Linked DNA regions of Homo sapiens: region 2 is linked to region 1. The links are contacts of gene promoters, found by promoter capture Hi-C in blood cells and fetal thymus (Javierre and others, 2016). All regions are on one chromosome and are shown on one strand. The core of a region is centred on a gene start or on the middle of the fragment in contact, and the rest is flanking DNA. Distances in the headings are between cores, read along the strand shown.

Region 1 (4,856 bases), core at 1,459-3,958:
GTGTTGGAGTGTTCTGTTAATACTAATCCACAGAACTTTACCTTCATAGTTGTACTTGGAGGATCTATTTGCTCTGAGAACTATGAGAACTATGGCTGAATTTATTGTTCTTAAATCCTTAGTAAATCATTATAAGGTGTAATGTGGAACAATGAAGTACCTTTGTGTATTGATCAGTCAGTCACTGATAGTCGGCTACTAGGAGCCAGGCATTTCACTTTTTTTTTTTGAGACAGGGTCTCTCTCTGCCTCACCCAGGCTGGAGGGCAGCGGTGCGATCATAGCTCACTGCAACCTTGACCTCCTGGGCTCCTTGAGGAGCCCTCTTGTCCTCCCATCTCAGCCTCCCGAGTAGCTGGGACTACAGGCACACACCACTGTGGCTGGTTAATATATTTTTTTGTAGAGATGGAGTCCCACTTTGTGGCCCAAGCTATATTTATTACTTCATTCATTTCTTAGAGGAAACTTATGAGGAAGGTAATATTGCCCTCATTTTACTGAACAGGAAATTGAACAGCTGGATAATTTGTGGAAGGTTTAAACTTAGATCTGGCAATTTCAAAACCCAGCCTCTTTCCCTTACATCTAGAGTATGAAATCAAAAGACTTTTCTGCTCCTGCTGGCTTAAAATCTAGAGCAATGAGGGGACCTTAAAGAGTGGAGGCAAAGGAAGAAGTTCACAGGCCCCCTGGAGAATATGGGTTCTTTTTCAGGGGGAGAAAAAAATGGTACATTTACACACAAATGCACAAATTCTTATATGCAATTTCTTAGGTTTCAGCTCCCAGGTTAACACATCTTATTTTAAGACTGAGAAGGGTAATGTAGAGAAAAAAATCAAAGAGATACATTAAAAAAAAAAATTTAAGCCAAATCATAAACATGTTTCACAAACAGTTGTAATTGCCTGAAGGGAAAAATAATTTACAAAATAAATAGAGATAAAGTAAAGGGGGAAAAACTCATAAAGGACTGATTTCAAAACATTTTATAGGCTGGACACAGTGGCTCATGCCTGTAATCCCAGCTACATTAGAGGCTGAGGCAGGAGAATCACTTGAACCCAGGAGACAGAGGTTTCAGTGAGCCAAGATCGCGCCACTGCACCCCAGCCTGGGTGACAGAGCCAGACTCTGTCTCAAAAAAAAAAAAAAATTATAAAGTTTGAGCTTTTTTTTTTCCTTTAAATGAAAGGAAATTTGGTAATTCTCCCAATCCAATCCAACAGTACTAAGAATTCACTCATTCAATAGCTTGGCTGGATTTTAGAAACATGAATTATTTCATGACAACTAACCACCCTTGTGGCCAAGAGAACAAGGGTAAATAGAGGAAAGTGATCAAAAGTGAGGTTTAGTGGCAACTCCCAACAACCTATATGGGTAAGGCCAAAATCAAAAATTACCCTCTACATGAATGGGCACAGGATAGGCCAGGTCATCCAGCATCAGAACTCCCATTTCACTTCCAAGAACACACTGTAGGTCACTGTCCCGTAAGTGTCCTACCATTTGCAAATTCATCTCAATGTGCACACAATATGATAAATACTACTCAGTTTCTACAAAATCAGACAAAGGCAAGCAGGTACTTGAAGCAGATTTAACTTTGCACATCTTGGATACACATAGAGTTAAAAGATAGTCCTAGCTTCATTTAAAGTCAAATATTCTAGCACATTTTTATTATTTGTGGCACGAAATATGTGGAGCAGAGAGGCACTGAGAAATACAATGCTATTTGGCCCAAAAGGAATGACACAGCACTTCTCTGTCCTTGGAAGAACAGCACCATGGGCAACCACTGGATTAACTTATATACACAATCATACCAAGTAGGAACAGGTTTTGCCATCAAGTTCATTCATTCTTGGTTTTTAAATCCCAACATTAAAATAAGCAAACATTGCCACAACAAATGTTTTCTCTTGTGAAGCCATAAGAGAACAGGAGAATCCAAGTTAAGCAAAGATAGCAAAGCTTGCTCTTGTCAATTAAAAGTGCAATTGGCCTATCTATTTGAAAGTGAAATCTTTATTATGGAAAGTCAGATTTCAGGAAAAAAATCCATAACATAACTGTTTCATTAAATTACTCAGGTCCTATTTTCATTAAGTTGTATTATCATAATAGCTGAGAGTTCATTTGCCATTGTACCCAACTCATCTAAAATTCTGAATCCCCAGTGACTGGATTATATTTGACTTCAAAAAGAACACTATGTCCTGCTAGCCTTATGTAATACAAAGTAAATCAAGTCACTGAGTTTTCACCCATGGATATAACATTCCAGTTCATTTTAATTACATATAAAATGTATATTAAGTAAATATATATATTAGCCTGCCTTTTGATGAAGGCAACTGACTTATGACAATAGCATACAGTTAATATTCGCCTTTGTTCCTGAAATATCTTTGTTATAAACATAGTTTCTATACTTTGAAAGCCAAATTCACCAAGGGAAGCATCTTCTAAATCTTACTGCTGTAAGCTCATTTTCCTGGACTGTTATTATACGTAATAAGAGACTTGACTTGACAGCTCCTATAATAACACATTCTAAATTTTAAATTCGATGTGTGTTTTTTACCTTAAACTCTTGTGATGACAAAACCATTTTCCTCAAAGCTGATTGGTTATGCAGGTCTACAACAGTGCTTAAATGGAACCTTGCTGTGCCAAGCTTTCTGACAAGGAGGAATCTTTTTATTTTGAGCCTTTTTGATACTGAACATGATATCTGAGTGAAGAATTTTTGTTTTATTATTAAGAAATAAATGTATCTTGCTTCTTGAGATCTCCCTGGCTTCAGCAATTTGTAGTTATTTCCACTATAGACCATTAAGAATATATTTCAAAGGCAAGCTAACAAAGTTCAAGTAAAAATTATTTTTTATATATTACAGCTTCTAATTGGCATTGGGTGAGTATTAGAGATTATCAACATAAATTACATATAGTGTCAAATAATGAATTTAATTCATAGATGTTGGTTAATTCTCCTTATTGCATTCCTTCTTGTTGGTTGTATAATCATTGTATGCAGACTAATCTTCTGATAAAACTTTAAACTCCTTGGTTTATTTGGTGTATTTGTTTTTCTTGTAAGTTTTTTCCAGCCTTCTTAGACCTCCTTTACTACTGTGACTTTGTACATTTCCCCATAGTGAAGTCTAGTTTTGTCAACATCGCCCTAGAAGTATCTCAAAATACAGTGCCTGTGTCATTTCCTCTCTGATTTAGCTTTCATCCTACTTTTAAAGCAACAGAAGATTAAACTTGATTTTGTGGCCCCCTAATACAGGTATGACTGGATAAAATAATTAACATGACATGTGCTGCCTTAGAACTGAAGCTTTGCTATTCATTTCATTTATTTGTTCCATTTCTATATTTTAGTTTCTTCTCAGGTTAAAGCTGTATTTTTCTTAAAGGCTTATAAAAATTTTGCTGAAAAAAATGTTGGTGCTTCGGTGCAGGCTTGGAACCTCTTTTCCTAAACTAGATAACTTGGTGAGTACTTTCATTTATTTTTGCCAATACATACAGGTTCTCAAACTAGATACTGTCAGAAATACACTTGAGAGGGCCAAACACTACTGAAATGTATCAGAAGACTCAAAGAGCATCTGCTTTCACAGATGGAATGGAAGAAGAACTTACACAGTCATTGTACTTTGTGGCAATCATTATGAGTGTTACTTTCAACTCAAAAAATAACTAATTATAGACTTTAATCACTAACTTTTAGAGATGGAAGGGATCTCAGTCATCCAACATAATATATTAATTTTACAAAAGAGAAAATGAGTTTTCTATTTGCAAATATAAAGGCTACATATATTATCAAGAATCACTGTGACAGCTACTAGAGAGATGAGATGAATGATTAAGCAAGGCAGAAATTAACCATCCAAAAGCACCCTTAAATCTTGGGCCATAATCTTAGAAACATTTAGCAAAGAAAGCTTTCACCAGTATTCTCTTTATTAGTTTCCACATATTGTTGTAACCTATACTAAACACTCTAAAATAACATTCAGCTGTTATTTTCATTCTCTATGATGTTCTAACTCTGAAAATCTTTAAATAGTAGGAAAGGTATTTACATACTACTGCTTCCTTTGTTTAATTACATTCTGCCAATTTTTCTAATGTATGAAAGATAACTGATTACACCCACAATTTAGGAAAATGTCCATTATAAAAATGCTAAAGCGTCATTTATGTTGCTCCTATAGGAAGTAAACAGAAGGGTGAGCATTGGCTCCAATTATGCTAGATAGATTTTATGTCCAGAAAAGGAAGAAAGAATGAAAGGAATGAAAACAACTGAGTGTCTACATGTTGGTTACTCTGCTAGGAAATGGACTATATCTGATATACGATGAAAATGAATCATTCTGATTAAAACCTTTTATTTTCCTCTATTGTATATGCAAATAGAAAGTTTTCTTAAGAAATTACTCAAGTAAATGTTTCAGAATAAACCTTGTTCCAAGATGTAAATACGAGACTTAATTTTACAAGTCTTTCATAATTAACTAGAGTGGGATAAATGAATGAACCCCGTTAAAAACAATCTCCAAACTTCATACATAAGTCTATATGTTTAATCAAGGTATCTAATAAAGAGATAAATTTACTATTCTGCCTATTTCCTATTTCTTCCTATTTTCCTGACCATCTTAGAGCATAAGTGATTTTTTTTTTTTTTTGAGACAGAGTCTCACTCTGTCGCCCAGGCTGGAGTGCAATGGCACGATCTTGGCTCACTGCAACCTCCTCCTCCTGGGTTCAAGCGATTCTCCTGCCTCAGCCTCCCAAGTGGCTGGTATTACAGGTGTGAG
Region 2 (5,354 bases), core at 2,469-4,968, 270 kb after region 1:
CTCTGCCTCCCGGGTTCAAGAGATTCTTGTGCCTCAAATTCCTGAATAGTTGGGATTACAGGGCGTGCCACCACGCCTGGCTACTTTTGTACTTTTAGTAGAGATGGGGTTTTACCATGTTGGCCAGGCTGGTCTCCAACTCCTGACCTCAAGAGATCCGCCCGCCTCTGCCTCCTAAAGTGCTGGGATTACAAGTGTGTGCCATTCTATTCTATTATTCAAATTAATCTGTCCTTGAGAAGCACTTAAAATTGTACATTGGCTAGTCTTTAATGAAGCAAGAAATAGAATTAAAATCTAAGGAGCACTGATAAGGGTCAGGTTGAATTGTTAGCTTTGTTAAGTGTGATTGTGTAGCATGCCAAAATACACTTAGAATATATTTATTCTTTTTTTTTTATTTTTTCATAGAGATGGGGGGTTTTACTATGTTGACTAGGCTGATCTCAAACTCCTGCTTTCAAGTAATCCTCCGATCTCGGCCTCCCAAAGTGCTGGGATTATAGGTGTGAGCCATGGCATCAGGCCTCAAATGAATATATATACATATACATACACACACACACACATTTCCCTCTTTTTTTTTAATTTTACTTTAAGTTCTGGGATACATGTGCAGAAAGTGCAGGTTTGTTACACAGGTATACATGTGCCATGGTGGTTTGCTGTACCTATCAACCCCCATGGTGGTTTGCTGCACCTATCAACCTGTCATCTAAGTTTTAAGCCCCACATGCATTAGATGTTTGTCCTAATGCTTTCCTTCCCCTTGCCCCCCACCCCCCGACAGGCCCTGATGTGTGATGTTCCCCTCCCTGCGTCCATGTGTTCTCATTGTTCAACTCCCACTTGTGAGTGAGAACATGTGGTGTTTGCTTTCTGTTCCTGTGTTAGTTTGCTAAGAATTATGGTTTCCAGCTTCATCCATGTCCCTGCAAAGGACATGAACTAATTCTTTTTTATGGTTGCATAGTATTCCATGGTGTATATGTGCCACATTTTCTTTATCCAGTCTCTCGTTGATGGGCATTTGGGTTGGTTCCAAGTCTTCGCTACGGTAAATAGTGCTGCAATAAACAAACATGTGCATGTGTCTTTATTCAAATGAATATTTAAAGAGCATATGCCCACTCATGTTCTGTTCTATTCTGTACATGTTACAGTATAATTTCAATTCTTTGAAAAGTTGGATAGAACAAAAATTTTAATAATCTTGCTTCATAAACAAAAGGTTATTAGATTTTGGTCAGAAGAGATGATAATTATAAATATCTATTTGAATATAAACTCTCTTTGATTCTGAAATTCCCAATGTTTTTGATATGCTGAATAATTTTATATGACAGACATCATTTGATTTAAAGTCTAACCTGGAATCATATTGTATATTATTAACCTGACACCTCCCTCACATTTAGGACCAGTATATTTACGTTTTATTGGATGTTAATTCCAGGCAACTCTCCTAGTGGTATGATAAAGAAATACTCAGAAGGTATTTTTGCAGATTCTTTCCTCTGCCAGTTTTCCCTTATTCAGTGTCACAGGATACATCTAAATTATGTCAGACCAAAACTAAGGCTACCTAAGCCAAATCAGGGAGCAGTTTGGAAATGTGTGCCAGTCATTTGAAGGATGCCCCTGGCAGGAGAGAACTTTAGAACTGGAAGATATTTTAGAGATCATGTAATGATAGAAGGCTCCCATTTTAAATGGGCTAAAACTGAGGCTATGACAGGTCAACTCACTCTTTCCAAAGATAATCAGTAATCTGGTAATGCAAGTCTTACTTTCAGAAGACCCTTACAAGAATCATACAGGGCTGGGCGTGGTGGCTCACGCCTGTAATTCCAGCATATTGGGAGGCCAAGGCAGGCAGATCACGAGGTCAGGAGTTTGAGACCAGCCTGGCCAACATAGTAAAACCCCGTCTCTACTAAAAATTCAAAAATTAGCCAGGTGTGGTGGCACAGGCCTGTAATCCCAGCTACTTAGGAGGCTGAGGCAGAATTGTTTGAACCCAGGAGGCAGAAGTTGCAGTGAGCCTAGTCCAGAAGTTGCACCACTGGACTCCAGCCTGGGTGACAGAGTGAGACTCCGTCTCAAAAAAAAAAAAAAAAAAAAGAATTATACAGTAAGTCAGTACCATATCAATATTTGGAGCACAGGGTTTTATACCATAAATCTATTATTTTCATTCAGATAAATCCTCCTCTTTCTTCTTTTTGGGGAATCTTTTAAAAAATTTTTAATTTAATTTGAAGTTCCAGGATACATGTGCAGGACGTGCAGGTTTGTTACATAGGTAAACGTGTGTGCCATGGTGGTGTGCTGAACCTATCAACTTATCACCTAGGTATTAAGCTCTGCATGCATTAGCTATTTATCCTGATCTGGTAATCTTTTGAGTCTGTAAGTTTTCTCATTCCAGTAACCTCTGCTGTTCCTGAGATAGTGCAAGATTCTAGTATTTTCTTCTATTAAAAAATTTTTTTTTTGAGACGGAGTCTAACTCTGTCACCCAGGCTGGAGTGTAGTGGCATGATCTTGGCTCACTGCAACCTCTGCTTCCTGGGTTGGAGCAATTCTCCTGCCTCAGCCTCCCGAGTAGCTGGGATTACAAGTGTGTGCCACCATGCCCGGCTAATTTTTGTATTTTTAGTAGAGACGGGGTTTGGCCATGGTCTTGAACTTTGGCTGGTCTTGAACTCCTGACCTCAGGTGATCCACCCACCTCGGCCTCCCAGAGTGCTGGGATTACAGGCATGAGCCACTGCGCCCGGCCTAAAACGTTTTTTTTTTTTTTTTTTTTTTTTTTTTTTTTTTTTTTTACCACTTTACCAACGTGCCAAATAATAGTGCATATATGCAGTATAATACATTTCATATCTGCACCTACTTCAAAGTGTATTCTGCCCTTTGGGATAAGCCAAAGGTGAGCTAATATCTGCACATGATTTGTTTTGCTCAGATTCTCTTTGAAAACTTGTAGATTTGATGGGTGTTGTGAGTAAAGAAGACGGACATCTCTTCGATACCCGTATTTCCCTCCTAAATTGGTAATGCTGTGGTGACATATTCAAGGTATGTGAAGGATTCTTAAACAGAATATAAAGGCTTGCCCTGGGCCCCATAACCCTGTGAGAATAAAAGTCCCTTTGTAAGTGGGTCTGAATAGCTTCTAGCTTCTAGGATGTTCTGTGCATTAGAATGCTTACAAGCTTTGGCCCCCTAAGTGGTTACACCGATGACCACCCTATCATGCTGGGTTCCGTGGTGAACTGAGAGATGCCATTACCTTTCACCGCCCTTGGCCGGACACTCACGGTGGGCCTAACTCCGGTGGTAATTCCATCCCTCACTGCGGGACCTTGACATCCCCGAGCTGAAGCCCACTTCCTCCCTGACCTCTGGAGCCCAGCTGAGCGGCTCCGAGAGCTCTGCCATGACTCCTAACCGGGTGGACAGGGGGGCCGGGCAGCCGCGGCGCACACGCTGGGCGTCGTCCCTAGCAGCAGAGGAGACCAGAAGGTGAGAGTCCCCATGCCGCAGCCGGAGGGCCGGGGTGGGCTTGCACCGCTATCGCGAGAGCTCGTGAGGTGGGGGCGGCGGGGAGCTGGGGAGGGGCTCGCGGAGAGCCTGCCCCGCCTCCCTTTCCTTCCCCTCCCCTGGAGTGATTCAAGACGAGCGCTACCCACTTCCGCCCCCTCCCCCTGCCATTGGAACTAGCTGAGCCGAACTAGTTGCGGCCACCGAGCAGCCGGCTCTCGGCACCTCCTCCTCCGCCTCCCTGTCTCCTGTTCCATTCGCCTTTCCTCTTCTTTCCTGGCCCACGCCGCTCCGAGGCCTCGCGACCGCCGAGCCTGCAGCCTGCCCCGCGGCCAACATGAGCTTCTTGTTGTGAGTAGCCAGGCCCCGCACGCGCCGGCTTTGTTCGGGTGGACCTGGGCCCCCGCCCGCCGCCCGCCGCCCGTCGCCCGCCCTCGTCCCGACCCTCCTGGCCCAGCGCTCCCGGGGCCCGGCGTCACCACCAAGCGGGGCCCCGGGACTGCGCGGAGCGCTCGGACTACCTAACCGCCGCCTCCCCATAGGGCTTCGAGTACTCGTGGGCTCCTGCAGCCCTGAGGAGGTTCTTCCCCCCCGGCACACCCCGGGGCCAGCGCCTGGATTCCTTCATCACCCCCGTCTCTGCCTTCGCTCGCATTCCCGGGCTTGTTTGTGCGCTTCTCGTGGGTATCTCCCACTCGCCTGCACAATCCGTATCCAAGCGGTGCTCGGTTGAATGGCTCCGTCGCGGCTGCCCATTGCTCTTTTCTGGGTCCCAAGCACAGAAGATAAGACTGTCGTACTTTCCCCTGTCATCCCAGGACCCTTTTAACTTCCTCTCTCGTCTTAGGGCTGGGAAGTTGGGATGACAAGTTCTGTAGATGTAACACTGAAACAAGGCTACTTGCGGGTCGGGATCCCTTGGACACAGACGGGGGTCCCTGAGAAAGGGGTCTGGAGCCGCCCCCTTGCTTCCTAGAGGCGCCCTTCCTCCCAGAGGACTTCCCTGAAGAGGATGAGTTTTATCTTTTTAGACAACCAGCAAATAGGTTTTGGATAGTGTGCCCTGCCTAGGTTGATTAGGTCCACTGGGGAGTTGTTTTGAAAATCATTTGTAAATGCCAACTTTGGCGTCATGTTTAGTGCTGGTCATTATTTCACTTACTTATCGTTTGTTCCAGACGAGTGGAGGGGAACGTGGAGGGGGAAGGGCAGAAGGATGGGATGGCCAGATGTGGATATGGAGGCAGTAGATAAGCCTCAGGTCCTCTGAAAACAGGGGTTACAGCCTGAGGAATAACTCCTTTGAAGGCTTCGTTGTGATGCACTCATTCCATGTTTAGTCTGTGTTTAGAAAACTAATAAAAAACTTAGAAGTTGAAACTCACCCATATACTGTTTTACTGTTGTGGAGAAATTAGCATTTAAAGGATATTTTCTTAAGATTTCTCTTCTTTCCTTGCCTAATAATTTTTAGTCATTACATTGACGTCTGAATACTGAGAATTTAATTCACTCTTATTTTCACATGCTCACATCTAGAATTTTTTTTTTTAGGGTGTTTAAGCAAAACTGAACAAGGCTGACCTAGGGGCAGACTTGATATTTCCAATATGCATAGGGGACCTGGCTTGTGTCAACTTGCCTAAAACCTTTAAACGGAAAGGGATTTCTTAGGCTCCTCCTAGAAGTTGATTCTGAGTTTGTCGGATTGGCATAGGGCTAGATGACAGGACTGGGTGATTTTATAAAAAAGTCCTTGTTTCTTATTTTAGTTCTTTTTTTTTTTTTTTTTTTTTTTTGAGACG

The links. The method cuts DNA at HindIII sites, captures the fragments that hold promoters and counts their contacts. A CHiCAGO score of 5 or more calls a contact.
Region 2: the fragment with the promoter of MOB1B here is called in contact with the fragment with the promoter of ENAM in region 1 in 13 of 17 cell types (fetal thymus, total B cells, non-activated CD4 T cells and 10 more); the score reaches 15.2 in fetal thymus.

The regions. Positions count from the first base shown.
Region 1 is chr4:70,626,036-70,630,891 of GRCh38, forward strand. ENAM (enamelin) reads left to right here and starts at 2,709. Exons shown (of 9, transcript NM_031889.3): 1 at 2,709-2,929; 2 at 3,406-3,519. The coding sequence starts at 3,466. The HindIII fragment of the contact is 672 bases long and covers 2,688-3,359 here.
Region 2 is chr4:70,898,651-70,904,004 of GRCh38, forward strand. It overlaps MOB1B (MOB kinase activator 1B), which reads left to right and starts at 3,719. Exons shown (of 6, transcript NM_173468.4): 1 at 3,719-3,900. The coding sequence starts at 3,887. LOC124900711 (a long non-coding RNA gene) reads right to left here and starts at 3,581. Exons shown (of 2, transcript XR_007058132.1): 1 at 3,299-3,581; 2 at 570-1,067. RefSeq lists silencers at 3,539-3,688, 3,999-4,048. The HindIII fragment of the contact is 2,463 bases long and covers 3,220-5,354 here.